Regions from separate parts of the Homo sapiens genome. Here region 2 is linked to region 1. The links are contacts of gene promoters, found by promoter capture Hi-C in human tissues and cell types (Jung and others, 2019). All regions are on one chromosome and are shown on one strand. The core of a region is centred on a gene start or on the middle of the fragment in contact, and the rest is flanking DNA. Distances in the headings are between cores, read along the strand shown.

Region 1 (7,261 bases), core at 1,821-4,320:
AGAGAGAGAGAAAATGCCGTTTGATGACAGAGGCTGAGAGGAGGGACGCGTACTCAAGCCAAGGGGGCCAAGAACGGCCGCAGCATCAGATGCTGGAGACAGCTCGATTTTGGACTTCTAGCCTCCAGAATTGTCAGAGAATAAATTTGTGTTGTTTTAAGCTACTCAGTTTAATTTGTTATGGCAGCTATGCAAAACTAACATGTACATATGCTAGTTTTTCTTTTTTTTTTTTTTTTGAGACAGGGTCTTGCTCTGTTGCCAGGCTGGAGTGTAGTGGCTTGATCTCAGCTCACTGCAACCTCCACTTCCCGGGTTCAAGCAATTCTCCTGCCTCAGCCTCCTTGAGTAGCTAGGACTACAGGCATGCACCACCACGCCTGGCTAATTTTTGTATATTTAGTAGAGATGGGTTTTTACCATGTTGGCCAGGATGGTCTCCATCTCTTGACCTTGTGATCTGCCCGCCTCAGCCTCCCAAAGTGCTGGGATTACAGGCATGAGCTACGGCGCCAGGCCTCCTTTTCCAATAAGAAAAACTATTTTATTTTCAAATGAGAGGGGTGAAATAAATAAATGTTCCCATTATGATCACGAGTGAAGGCAGCTGTCTGAAGATGGTGGAATTGTGTACGATTGTCATTTCCTTTGTGTGGCGAGGCATCTGACTCATAACACAAAAATGCGCTATTTCTGTAATCAGGAAAATAAGTACTTCAAGGACATTCTAAGACAGTATAAGAAGGGATTTACTCTCTGGGAGTGATCAGATAGAACCTCAAAGAGGATGAAGGAGGAGAAGGATGCTGCATTTTTCCTCTGTTTTATGAACGTAAACATAGGTCATTCAAAATATCTCTCCATAAGTAAGAATCAGTCATTAGGAAGTAAGGAGACACAACAATGGAAATGAAAAGCAAAAGGATATTTAGAAATATCCTTTAATCTTTCTTTCTTTCTTTTTTTTTTGAGATGGATTCTCGCTCTGTTGCCCGGGCTGGAGTGCAATGGCATGATCTTGGCTCACTGCAACCTCTGCCTCCTGGGTTTAAGCGATTCTCCTGTTCTCAGCCTCCCAAGTAGCTGGGATACAGGCACCCACCACCATGCCCGGCTAATTTTTTGTATTTTTAGTAGAGACAAGGTTTCACCATGTTGGCCAGGCTGGTTTTGAACTCCTGACCTCAGATGATCTGCCCACCTTGGCCTCCCAAAATGCTGGGATTACAGGCATGAGCCACCGCACCCGGCCTACCCTTTAATTTTTCAAATGGGACAAAGTCTTGTCCTCATAACCATGGGAAGAACCTGTGGGCAGAGGCATCACTGTGACGCTTGCATCATCAAAGGTGCCCAGTGACGTCAGCACCAACGGAAGACTCCAGCGCTAGGAGAGCAGTAGATGGCAGCTGGTTTGTGACACGACACAGACCAAAAGATATGCTTAGAAGATCCCTGTCCCTGTGGAACATCTTTGGCCATCTCTTTGCATCACTCTAACCCAAGGTAAAGGACTTTTAAAGAGGGATCTAGGAAAGTTTGGATGATTGTGGTAAAATCAGGGTTTGGGTCATCCTCTAACCTTGACCTCAGAAAGATATTGACAGACAGGCAGCTCATCAACATACAGCTAGTAGCATGCCCAGGGATGATGTCATGGAGGAGGGCACACTGCTGTAGAGAACCTGGCTAGATGGGCCTGTCTTACCCCATCCACATGGCATTTCTAGTGATCTTGAACTTAAAAGGTGGTCAGTTTCCAATTGCAGAGGTACAAGAACTGGGCCCAACCGAAGCCTGCCCAGGAAGGGATTATATGAAGAACTGCCCCATAGAAATATAATGTGAGCCACATTTTCTTTCTTTCTCTCCTTTTTTTCTTTTTTTTTTTAGATGGAGTCTTGCTCTGTCACCCAGGCTGGAGTGCAGTGGTGCGATCTTGGCTCACTGCAACCTCCGCCTCTTGGGTTCAAGCGATTCTGCTGCCTCAGCCTCCTGAGTAGCTGGGATTACAGGCGTGAGCCACCACACCTGGCTAATTTTTGTATTTTTAGTAGAGACGGGGGTCTCACCATGTTGGTCCTGCTGGTCTTGAACTCCTGACCTCGTGATCCTCCCCCTTCGACCTCCCAAAGTGCTGGGATTACAGGTGTGAGCCACCACGCCCAGCCTGTGAGCCACATTATCAATGTCCGGTTTCCTAGTAGCCACATTACAAACAGTAAGAAGAAACAGGTGAATTAATTTTCATAATTTATTTCTCATTTAACTCATTCTTTCCAGACTATGACACCCAGACTGTTACCGTTTCACCTGTGATCGATGTGAAGTTATGAGTGAGATGGTAAATTATTTTCTTTCGCACTGTGTTTGACTTTGAGACCCCATGTGTTTTGTACACTTGCAGCTCACCTCATTTCACAGCAGCTGCATTTCACACACTCGGGACCACATGTGGCAAGTGGCTACTCTATGGCTATCAGTGCAGAGCTAAAGTGTCATGTTTGTTAAATGAGTGTTCAAAATTGAAAATCACTGGAAGGCTGAGGTGGGCGGATCACCTGAGGTCAGCAGTTTGAGACCAGCCTGGCCAACATGATGAAACCCCGTCTCCACTAAAAATACAAAAATTAGCTGGATGTGGTGGCTGAGGCAGGAGAACTGTTTGAACCCAGGAGGCGGAGGTTGCAGTGAGCCAAGATTGTGCCACTGCACTCCAGCCTGGCAGACAGAATGAGACTCCATCTCAAAAAAAAAAAAAAAAAAAGTGAAAATCAGAGAATCAGAGACCTGCATTTTGTGTGGACACACAGCGCAGTGGCGTGTTCCCTATGGGCTTGTAAACCAAATCCCACGTGAAGCCTCCAACACAAGCTCAGGCACTGGTGAGAGTCCAGACTTCCATTGTAAAGTCTAATGCCTTTAATGTAGACTTCATTCTCCGTTTACAAGATCTACCTTTGAGAGCACTTGTAAATTTTTAGACTGGCATAGTCTTGGAACAAATTATTCATCTTACTATCTTAGTGAGGAAGAAAGAATAAAAAGTCGACTTCGGGGGCAGAATACATTCTCCTAGATCAAGAAGACTTCCTCATCAAGACCTCATTCTATTTGCACAGCCCTGCAGTGGAGAGATTTATTGCGTTTCTTTCATGCAATCAACGCAGACTTTGATGTGAACACGGGGAGAGACAGTGCACGTGCAGCTGACCCACGGGGAACAGTCAGCCCCGGGCACTTGAAGGAGAACAGAGGCTTCCCTAACTCAAGTCGCTGTCTCCTGCCAGCTGAACATTCTAGAAGCAACCTCTAAGGTTGGTGTCCAATGCCCATACATTAACCCATTGTTAGATGATGACAAATATGTCATTTTTTATTGCTTAAAATCTAATTTTTTCTCCTTCTTTCCCTAGGAGAGAATGAATTCTAAAAGAATGCTGTTATTGGTTTTATTTGCTTTTTCACTGATGTTGGTTGAGCGTTATTTCAGGTAAATATAAAGTATTGATAAATCATGATCTTTAGTGATTGGCAGAGGTGGTTTTAATTTAATTAAATTAATTAATTTAATTTTTGAGACAGGGTCTTACTCTGTTGCCCAGGCTGGAGTGCAGTGGTGCCATATTAGCTCACTGCAGCCTTGACCTCCCAGGCTCAAGTGATCCTCCCACCTCAGCCTCCTGAGTAGCTGGGACTACAGGCACATGTCACCACAAACAACTGATTTTTGAATTTTTTTTGTAGAGACTTATGTTGTCCAGGCTGGCAGAGATAATCTAAACTGCTGAGTTTTGTCCAAAGATATCAATACTACTCTCTAAATAAATCAGAAGTTACTTTCTCTTTGTGGGACAAAGGAAAATATACATATTTTAATTATTTCATTGTTAAACATTCAACAATTATTTACAGAGTGCCTTCTAGGTGCCAGGCTGTATTCTAGGTGCTGGGGATGCAGTGATAATGAAAGTGCCTGTCCTCAGGGAGCTTTCATTCTATTTGGAGAAGGTAGACAATAAATACACATAAAAGACAATGCCAGGGATATAATATTTTATAAAACAAGCATAATAAAAAATAAAGGTGACAATGCCATTTTAGATGAATTATAAACTATCTCAAGTTTCCATCTTTGTGTTTAATATAAATAATACTAAAGGTTCCATCTTTGTGTTTAATGTAAACAAGACTAAAGTCAACCTAATTCTATGCATATAGAAGCATGTGTACTAGAGGACGCATCTGTAAACCTGCTGGTATGGTTTGGCTCTTTCCCCACCCAAATCTCAACTTGAATTGTATCTCCCAGAATTCCCACGTGTTGTGGGAGGGACCCGGGGGAGGTAATTGAATCATGGGGGCTGGTCTTTCCCATGCTATTCTCATGATAGTGAATACGTCTCATGAGATCTGATGGGTTTATCAGGGGTTTCCACTTTTCCGTCTTTCTCATTTTCTCTTGCCGCTGCCATGGAAGACATGCCTTTTGCCTCCTGCCATGATTCTGAGGCCTCCCCAGCCATGTGGAACTGTAAGTCCAATTAAACCTCTTTTTCTTCCCAGTCTTGGGTATGTCTTTATCAGCAGCGTGAAAACAGACTAATACACCTGCTAATATTTTCCCGTCTAGAAAAACTCAAATTCTAGCTTTCTCCATACCACTCCTCATGGTCTTCTTCATAAGCAATGCAGTGTTTCCAGAGGCTATTTGAACAGCAGTAGTATCATGACAGATAATAGTTTTTAAAAATGAAAGCTTTGCACAACATGTATCTGGTAAGGGACTTGTACCCAAAATATGCAAAGAGCTCTTAAAATTCAACAATAAGGAAACAAACACCTAAATTTAAAAATTAAATATTGACATTTAAAACATTTAAAAATGAGCAAAAGAACTGAATAGAATCTCACAAGAGAAGATATACAGATGGGAAATAAGCGAACGCCAAGATGCTCAGTCTCATTTGTCATCAGGAAATTGCAACGAAAACAAGGAGATACCACTACACACCCATTAGAACGGCTAACACCCAAAAATCTAAAATCTGAAAACCAGCTTCTGGTGAGGAAGTGGAAGGACAGGAACTCTCATTCATTGCTGGTGGGAATGCAAAATGTTACAGGTACTGTGGAAGACAGTGTAGCAGTTCCTTAGAAAGCTAGATAGAGCCTTATCATGCCACAGAGCAACTGTGCTCCTAGGCATGTAGCCAACTGATTAAAACACTTATGTCCACACAAACCCTGCACAAGATGTTTATAGAAACTCTATTCATAAATGCCTCAAACCACTAACATACTAGATGCCCTTCAGCAGGTGGATGATAAACAAGCTGTGGTTCATGAAGTGCTCAAAACCAGAAACGAACAAGACGACTTTCAATAGGAGAAGGATAAACATGCTGTGGCTCATCTGTGCAACGGAATAACACCCAACAGTAAAAAGAAATGAGCTGGCCGGGCACGGTGGCTCATGCCTGTAATCCCAGCACTTTGGGAAGCTGAGGAAGGTGGATCACCTGAGGCCGGGAGTTCGAGACCAGCCTGACCAACATGGAGAAACCCCATCTCTACTATAAATACAAAATTACCTGGGCATGGTGGTGCATGCCTGTAATCCCAGCTACTCAGGAGGCTGAGGCAGATGAATCACTTGAACCTGGGAGGCAGAGGTTGCGGTGAGCTGAGATCACGCCATCGCACTCCAGCTTGGGCAACAAGAGTGAAACTCCATCCCCCCAAAAAAAAGAAAAAAAAGAAATCAGCTATCAAGCTGTTAGAAGACATGGAGGAACCCTAAATGCATATTGCTGAGTGCAAAAAGCCCATCTGAAAAGGCTGCGTGCTGTATAATTCTCATGTGACATTCTGGAAAAGGCAAAACTATATTGGCAGGAAAAAGATCAGTGGTTGCCATGGGGTGGAGGTGAGGGAGGGGATGAATAGGTGAAGCACAAAGGAATTTTGGGGGGCAGTGAAACTGTTCTGTATGACAGTGTAACCATGGACACATGTAACTTTGCATTTGAAAAAAAACCCACAGGACGTTACAGCACGAAGAGTGAAATTAACATATGTAAATTTAAAAAATTAGCTAGGAGGTTCGAGGTATCCTAGGAAGCAATGCAGACTGTGAGAACATAATCTATATCCCAAATGTACAGAACAATCCCACTGGAAGGGGTCAGGGAAAAAGCTGCTGACCTAAAATAACTTAGGAATGAGTGGAGTTTTTTTTGTTTTGTTTTGTTTTGAGACAGAGTCTCACTCTGTCACCCTGACTGGAGTGCAGTAGAGCGATCTCAACTCACCACAACTTCTGCCTCCTTGGTTCAAGCGATTCTCCTGCCTCAGCCTCCCTAGTAGCTGGGACTACAGGCACATGCCACCAGGCATGGCTAATTTTTTATTTTTAGTAGATATGGGGTTTCACCATGTTGGCCAGGCTGGTCTCAAACTCCTGACCTCAGGTGATCCGCCTGCCACAGCCTCCCAAAATTCTGGGATTACAGGTGTGAGCCACAGTGCCCAGCTGGGTATGAGTGGAGTTTGAAAGTAAAGGCAATAGAAACTGTACATGAGCACTGTACATGTATTTGGGTCAATAAAGGTTTTTTCCCACAGGAATATGAGTTAACAATTCTGCTGCTGCTATACATGTATATTTGAATCAATTAAATAAATGGATGAGGCATGGGGGAGCAAGTTTCTTGCTGTTGGAGGGAACTTCATAGTTAAGCAAGAGAGGGGGCCACAGTGATCCACGTGGGAATGGATTGAAGCTGGAGACCTCAGCGTGAACTCACGTTTACCTTACTATGAACAGAGACATTTACGTGTCAACGTGTTTAAAGATATGTGGAAATACGCACAGGTTAGTGTCTATTTCCTTGCTCTGTTAGCTGAGAGGGCCTCGGAGGAAGGACACCCTGGAAGCAATGAGCACACCTGGTACCCAGATCTTGGCTTCTAGCACCATTCTCCAGGAAAGCAGCAGATCGTGGTTTCTAGCACCATTCTCCAGGAAAGCAACAGATCTTGGTTTCTAGCACCATTCTCCAGGAAAGCAACAGATCTTGTTTCTAGCACCATTCTCCAGGAAAGCAGCAGACCTTAGTTTCTAGCACCATTCTCCAGGAAAGCAACAGATCTTGGTTTCTGGCACCATTCTCCAGGAAAGCGACCAAGGCTTCTTGGAGAAGTGGATGGTTCTAGATTCGGACAGGAGATTTACAAGATGAGCCCAGAGCATCTCATA
Region 2 (7,261 bases), core at 2,455-4,954, 1.0 Mb after region 1:
GCCTGCAGCCTGTGCTCCATCTAGATGTGGGTGAGAGGGGGTGGGAGGGGGTGAGAGAGGGTGAGAGGGGGTAGGAGTGGGTGGGAGGGGGTGAGAGGGGGTGAGAGGAGTGAGCTGGGAAGAACCCAGGCAGGCTGTGGTCCAGTGAACTCCAGGCCCCATGATTCCATTGAAAATGCAATCCGCTGACTCAGTGGTTTACTTGAAGCCCTTCCCCCGCACCTGAACTTCTACCACTTTGTGAAGCTGAAGCCTCTTCCTCTTCCCCAACCCTCAGCCTTCCCCAACCCAGAGTCCAGCAGAGGAGCTGTTCTCCTCCCAGAGCTCCCATCCCGGGACACCACGGTGCCAGGACCCCCAGCCCAATTTATCAAGCCACACAAGCAGGACCAGACACAGCTGGCCCTGGCATCTGATCAAACATATACACGCAGCTGGAGGTTGGAGGCGCTTTTCATCATGGCGGCTTCTCAAGCATGGCGGCTCATGCTCTTTATCATGGTCTGATGGAGGGCCAGGAAGCAGGGCTCTCAGCAGCTGAGGGGCTGCCCCTCCTTCAAGCCCAGGGACAGAGCAGCATAAATCACCAAGGGATGGAGCCGTGACATCGATGGCTGAAACAGCCTGGCTGTCCCTTGGCTGCGCCTGGCCCTCCCATCTCACTGGCCCTCCCATCTCACTGGCCCCGCTCCGCTGTGCGGCACAGCTCTGTTTCCATGTCATGTCCACGAAGGCCTGGTTTTACTGGACCTGGATATCCCATCAGGTGCCAAGTAAACCCTGCAAAATAATGGAATTTCCAGGCGAGAGAGCCCATGACGAACACCAAACAGACTTTAGATATATAGAGTGAGTTCGCAATTAATTCGGGCCACAGTGTGCCAAGGCACATTTCCAAACTGGGCCTGGATTGGCGTGTCATCCTCCAGGAGAATATATTAGAGATAAAGGTTGAGTTTACAGCCCAAAAGAAATGTCAGTTGGAAAGGTCCCCGCTATTAAATCTTTTAAAGAACCATCTGCATAGGTGGAAAGAGATGCCTCCCACTCAATGGGCTGTTCCCCGGGAGTCAACAAGATCACCCTGGTGAAACAGCTTTTGAGGGTGTCTGTGACGATTCCCCACCTAGGGATCTCACTGAAGCTTTCCCACCATCCGACGAAGGTGAGGGCAGGCATGACCTCAGAATCTGGAGCAAGCGGCGTCCTGGATATGAGTCTGCCTCAGCAAGGGGCCTGAGGCTGCAGCCTCCCCACGCTGGCTCAGGTTCTCCTCTGGAAAGTGGGGACCGCAGTGCACCCCTGCATAGGATGCTGTGGAGGTTATCCGAGATAACACACAGACTGTGCCGGGCACAGAGCACAGGCTCAGAAAAGGCTCCATCCGTCCTGCTTCCGGCAGCTTCATGATCGACTGGGGAAACAGAGTCTCAGAGGGTGAAACCACTTAACTCGGAGGTGTAGGAATTGGAGACAGCCCCACCCCATCTGGGCACAGAGCTCTTTCCATGACCAACTGCCCCAGCGACGCTCCAGGACGCCACGAGCATAAGGCAGTGGTACCAGCAGAAATGCCTGTTAGCTGAAGGCTTTCTCAAAAAGTCAGGAGCCAGTGCTCCACACTGTGGAGGGGGGTTGGCCCAGACCCCCTCAGGGCCCAGACTCCCCTGGCCTCTGTCAAGAGCATGGTTTGCTGACAGCCAACAGCTGAGTTCCTTGCCTAAACTACCTTTTACTGGAGGTTAGACCCCATCCCTGCTCAAGGGCAGCCCACACCCAAGGACCGGTCAGGAAGAAGGTTCCAGATCCTGTCCCTTTTCCTGAATGTGGGACAACTCAGAAGGGCCGTCCCTGCTTCCGAGTCCTGCGGTCGGGGGGCTCCATGAGGCCTCTGCAGAATGCATGCACCTGCGCCCCGGCTTGCTGCCCTCGCCCCCACAGGCCTTGTTTCCAGAGTCCGCCTAGAAAACCCAGAGCCTCAGAGTCAGCTACCAAGGACCCTGACATAAACACTGTCCTCCTAGACACTTCTCCCTGCAGACAGGGGTCAGCAGGGCCCAGGTTCAGGGCCCAGGGGTTCAAGAAGTAGGGACGCTTGTGGGAGCACGTCCCAAAAGGATACAAGAGGAGGAGGGGCATCTTGGGGCCAGGTGCCACCCCTCACTGATGCCATCCTGGACTCTTCTCCCCCTGCAGAGGGAATGCACATGCCCAGGCCCAGAGGAAGCCACAGAAGGCCACTCCAAGGAGGCTGTGATGGAACAGGGAGGAGGTGGCCTGGGGGCTGAGGGGCTGGAGACAGGAGGGTGGAGCGGCTGGCACAGGGACAGGAGAGCGGGGTGGCTGGCACAGGGCAAGTCAGTCTAGGCAGGGAGTTTGTATTCTTCCCAAGGAGAATGGGGATGCGTAGAGGGTTTTAAGAGGAGAAGGCTATGTCATACTTGCATCCTGGAAAGATCTCTGACTTCAGTGTTGAGGATTGCTTAGAGGAACAAGAGGTGGGGCTCAAGTCAGAGGCAGCTATGGTTTCCAGGGAGAGGGGAGACGGGTGGGATGCCTTCCAGTACACGGTGGAGGAGGAATCGGCTGGGACTCGCCAGCAGCAAGGGCAGCGGTGCCCAGGACCCCGCCCAGGCTGTGCCTCTCATCATTTGAAGGCCTTTGCCTTGGACACTGTCAGCTGCAGAGTGCACCTCTGGCCAGGCCCCCGCGAGGTAGGCACTGTGGCCCTGCCTGTTCCCAGACGTGGTGTATCAGTCTGTTCCCACACTGCTATGAAGACATATCCGAGACTGGGTAATTTATAAAGAAAAGGGGTTTCATTGACGCACAGTTCCGCATGGCTGGGGAGGCTTCAGGAAACTTACAATCATGGCAGAAGGCACCACTTCACAGAGCAGAAGGAGAGAGAATGTGTGCTGGGCAAAGCGGGGAAGCCCCTTATAAAACCATCAGATTTTGCGATAACTCACTCACTATCAAAACGACAGCATGGGGGAAACCACGCTTATGATTCAATGACCTCCACCTGGTCCCGCCCTTGACGTGTGGGGATTACTACAATTCAAGGTGAGACTTGGGTGGGACACAGAGCCAAACCATATCACATGGGAACCATGGACCCCATCACTCAGGACCCTGTGCAGGGCCTCCCACAGGGAGCAGAAAACAGAGTCTATCCAGGAACCTCTCTCGGATATTGTTTTCCATACCATCACCTCCTTCTCATGGTCTCACACATGGCAACCACCCACCCCCCATTCTCCTGGCCCTTGGCACTAACTTCCCTGTGAGGGAGGCAAAGGCCGCAGTTCCCATTTCACAGATAAAGAAACTGAGGCCTTGAGATAGGACTGATTTGTCTCAGGTAGGAAACCAGCGCATCTGCCCGGGTCTGGCAAGAGCCCCTGCGAGTGACCTATGAGATTCAGATGGCGCGTTCTTCCCTCAGAGAGGCAGGGCTGCCTGCTGGTTACACACACCCTAACCATACTTCCTGGCCCACTTACGTCAAGCCTCATCAAAAATCCCCATCCATGGGGCCTTGGGGACCCCCTTCCTGAGCCGGGTGCTAAGAGGTTTCATGGATTCACTGTCTCATCCATCCCCTCACCATGGCCATGCGGTGGGAGCCGACAGACACTGAAGACCTGGGGTGTTACATGGCTTTGGGAAAGTCATTCTGCAATTTGAACAGGGTCCCCCAAGTGCAGGGAGCTCACCATGACTTTTGGGCTTCACTGTGGGATGCATATTTACATGCATCCTGGCCCCCGGGCAGACCCTGAGAATACACGGCCGCTCATCTGGGGTAAGGCCTGAGGCTGTTTGACGTCATGCGAGCACACCCTCTGCCTCTCAGGGCAGTGTTCAGGCGGGACAAGGATGCCCTGCTCATTGGCTGAAACAGCCAAGCTTCATTTGTTAAAAATTCTAGTCCTTGAGCCACGCCAACTTCATTATGGTCCTTGCCTCGGAGTCCTGGAGCTGCCATAAGAAAATACCACAAACAGCGAGGCTTAAAACAGCAGAAATGTTTCTCTCCCGGTTCTGGAGGCTCGAGACCTAGATGTTGCAGGGTCACGTGCCTCAGAGGCTCCTCCCTGCCTGCTCCGGTCCTGGCGGCTCCAGGCCTTCCTTGCGTGGCTCCAATCTCTACCTTCGTTTCACACCACCTGTCTTCAGGGCATGCTGTTGTTTTGGCCTCCTCTGCCTCCATCTTACAAGGACACCTGGGATGGTATTTAGGGCCAGGCCAGCCTGGCTAATCCAGGAGGATGTCCTCATTCATCTCAGGTCCTTAAGCTGATTGCATCTGCACGGACCTTTTTTCAAATAAGTCCATCTTCACAGGTTTGGGGTCTGGGACATGGGAGTATATTTTGGGAGCCACTTTCCACCCCGTATTAGTCAGAGTTCCCTAGAGGGACAGCACTAATAGGGTAGCTGTACATATGAAGGGGATTTTATTAAGGAGAATTGACTCACGCGATCACAAGGTGAAGTCCCACCATAGGCCATCTGCAAGCTAAGGAGCCAGGAAGCCAGTGTGAGTCCCAAAACCTCAAAAGTAGGGAAGCCCACAATGCAGCCTTCAGTCTGTGGCCGAAGGCTCAAGAGCCCCTGGCAAATCACTGGTGTAAATCCAAGAGTCCAAAAGCTGAAGAACTTGGAGTCTAATGTTCAAGGGCAGGAAGCATCCAGCATGGGGGAAAGATGGAGGCCAGAAGACTCAACCAGACTTTTCCTTCCATGTTCTTCTCCCTACTTTCTCCTGGCCATGCTGGCAGCTGATTAGATGCTGTCCACCTGGATTGAGGGTGGGTCTGCCTCTCCCCGTCCACCGACTCAACTGTGAATCTCCTTTGGCAACACCCCCACAGACACGCCCAGGAACAGTACTTTGCATCCTTCAATCCAATCCAGTTGACACTCAATATTAACCATCGCAATGCACTACATTCCAGGACACAATAAAAGAGGCCTCTGTACCCCACGTCTTCCTGTGCTCTCCAGCTTTGGAGGCTGAGAAGACAGTGGGGTGGAGACAGCCATGGTTTGGAGCAATGGGGGGTAAATGGTGCCTGCTGTGCACCTGGGTGTTGGGGGCAGAAACCTGTCTCCAACAGGAGGCTTCAAGCTGGCAAGAACACGTGGGGAGCTTGGTCAGAGGCTGCGTGCGGTGGCGCAGTGCTCATGTGAGATGCACGCCGTCTGGGGCTGTTATTTTTTCCAGCAGGCTCTAGTTTTATTTGTTTTCATTTTTAGTATTAAACCAATGTTTTTAATGGAAATACCTCCCAGATTAGATTTTCTTCCATAAGAGGAAGTGAAAACGGATATAGAATTTAAAATGACTCTCAAACTGGAGTCGAACCCAGAAGCCATATGTATTCCACCCTCAAAGTCTTTGAGCCTGGTCCACAAGCTGAGCCTCCGGGAGGGTTCTCGGGCCACAGAGAAGCAGCAGGAGGAGACAGAGGAAGAGTCCACACAGGAGGTGAACACTCAGGCTCAGGACCCTAGAAGCAGGCTGAGGGCCACAGCGCCCAGGTGAAGGAGCCAGGACCCCCTCCCAGCCCATTCCTCCAGGGCGCCGTCTCTTTCACTTCCACCTTCCAGCAAAAACAGGGCTGATCAGACGCCCAGGGCCTGGCGGGGGCACGGGACAGGAGCGTGGGCAGGGAAGCTCGGCTGCGGCAGGCCAAGAGTGGCTCCTGAAGAGAGGCCCACACTCACGCCCCGAACCCCTGGATATGATCTTATTTGGAAAAAGGGTCTGTGCAGGTGCAATTAGGTTAAGGACTGTAAATGAGGCCATCCTCCTGCGTTTGCCTCATGGGCCCCAATCACCACCCCCAGTGTCCTTATAAGAGAGATGCAGAGGAGATTAAAAGCCAAGAGAAAACCCATGTGAAGACAGAGGTGGAGTCTGGAGCATGGCGGCCACAAGCCAAGGAGCACCTGAGCCCCCAGAGCTGGAGAAGGCAGGAGGGTGCTCCCCTGGAGCCTCTGGGGGTGCAGCCCTGCCGACGCCCTGGCTGCGGACTCCAGGCTCCAGCGCTGAGGGAAGAGATCCGTCTCTAGCCTTCGAGGTTGTGCTCCTTCCATCCTGTGGTGGCCACAGGACTCACCCACACAGACTTCTGAGCTCAGGGCTCAGTGGGCAGGCCCACAGCATGGGGCACCTGGAAGGGCTGGGACAGCGCCAGCAGGGGAGGGGCTGGGGGCGGGAAGTGCCAGGCGGCAGGTCGAGCAACCTGTGCCAAGACCCCTGTGCGACTGGGCCAGGGACTTGGCCCTCGGCATCTCTCCCATGCCTGTCCAGTGAGGCTGACCAAGAAGGCACCAGGCCTGGGCCAGCCCCAGACAGGCTGGAGACAGGGTGCCAGCCAGGGAGGCCTACACGTCTGCTGTGGCCACTCTGGGCTGGACTCCTGGAAGAAGAGGATGGGCTCAGAGGCAGGAGCAGGCAGGCTGCCCACCCAGTCCAGACAGGGAGCAGGTCACACCCATGAGCCAGGGTTTTCCTGCCAGGCACAGGGCTGGGAATTCTCATGGATGCAGGGCAGGCCCTGCCCAGGATGTTATTCAAACGCTGGGGCAGCGACTCCCAGACCCAACTGCCCCAGCTGCAGGAGCAATCCCACCACGCCACAGGGGACTGCGGGCTTCTGCAGCCAGAAATGCGAGCTGGGCAGGGGTCCGCAGAGGAGCTGCGGGGGAATGGGCCTGGGGGTGACACACAGGGTGAGCGGCGGGAGCCCGTGCAGCCCCCACCCGAGGGGCACAGAGGCGGCTAACCCACGTCGGCATCAGCCGAGGCAGCCATGAGGCACGAATTTCTGGTGAGGGAGAATGGACATTCTCTTCTGATTGCTTCTATTTGGCTCGGGGTGGGGGGTGAACAGGAAGGGAAGGAAAGGCAGCGCATGGTCCTCCAGGGAACAGCCAGGGAAGGGGGGCCGCGCTTACTTCACTTGAGTGACCATGAGCTTCAGTGGAGATGGTCACTCGGCTGTGTGCCCTCCTCCAGCCACACATGTCCATGTGGGGCTGCACTGAATGGCCAGAAGGTGAGAGCCAATCAGAGGCCACTGACATGAGGGTGACGCATGTGTCTGTCTCTGAGTACAATGTGTGGAGAGGGTTAGTGTGCCCCATAGATGTTCAAACGGAAGGCACAGCCATAGCTGATTAGAATTGTGTTGCTGTTTGCATCCATTCTCCTTAAATAACCTTGAGAAAGAACTATTTGCCC

The links. Contacts are between HindIII fragments. The study calls those that stand out against the background at their distance.
Region 2: a fragment that was not itself captured here is called in contact with the fragment with the promoter of GLT6D1 in region 1 in 1 of the 25 tissues and cell types used here (dorsolateral prefrontal cortex).

Annotation. Positions count from the first base shown.
Region 1 is chr9:135,635,349-135,642,609 of GRCh38, reverse strand. It overlaps GLT6D1 (glycosyltransferase 6 domain containing 1), which reads left to right and starts at 3,070. Exons shown (of 5, transcript NM_182974.3): 1 at 3,070-3,317; 2 at 3,417-3,493. The coding sequence starts at 3,423. The HindIII fragment of the contact is 10,839 bases long and covers 1-7,261 here.
Region 2 is chr9:134,628,932-134,636,192 of GRCh38, reverse strand. No RefSeq gene overlaps it. Among named protein-coding and RNA genes, the nearest start is that of COL5A1, 9.2 kb to the left of the region's middle. The HindIII fragment of the contact is 7,228 bases long and covers 91-7,261 here.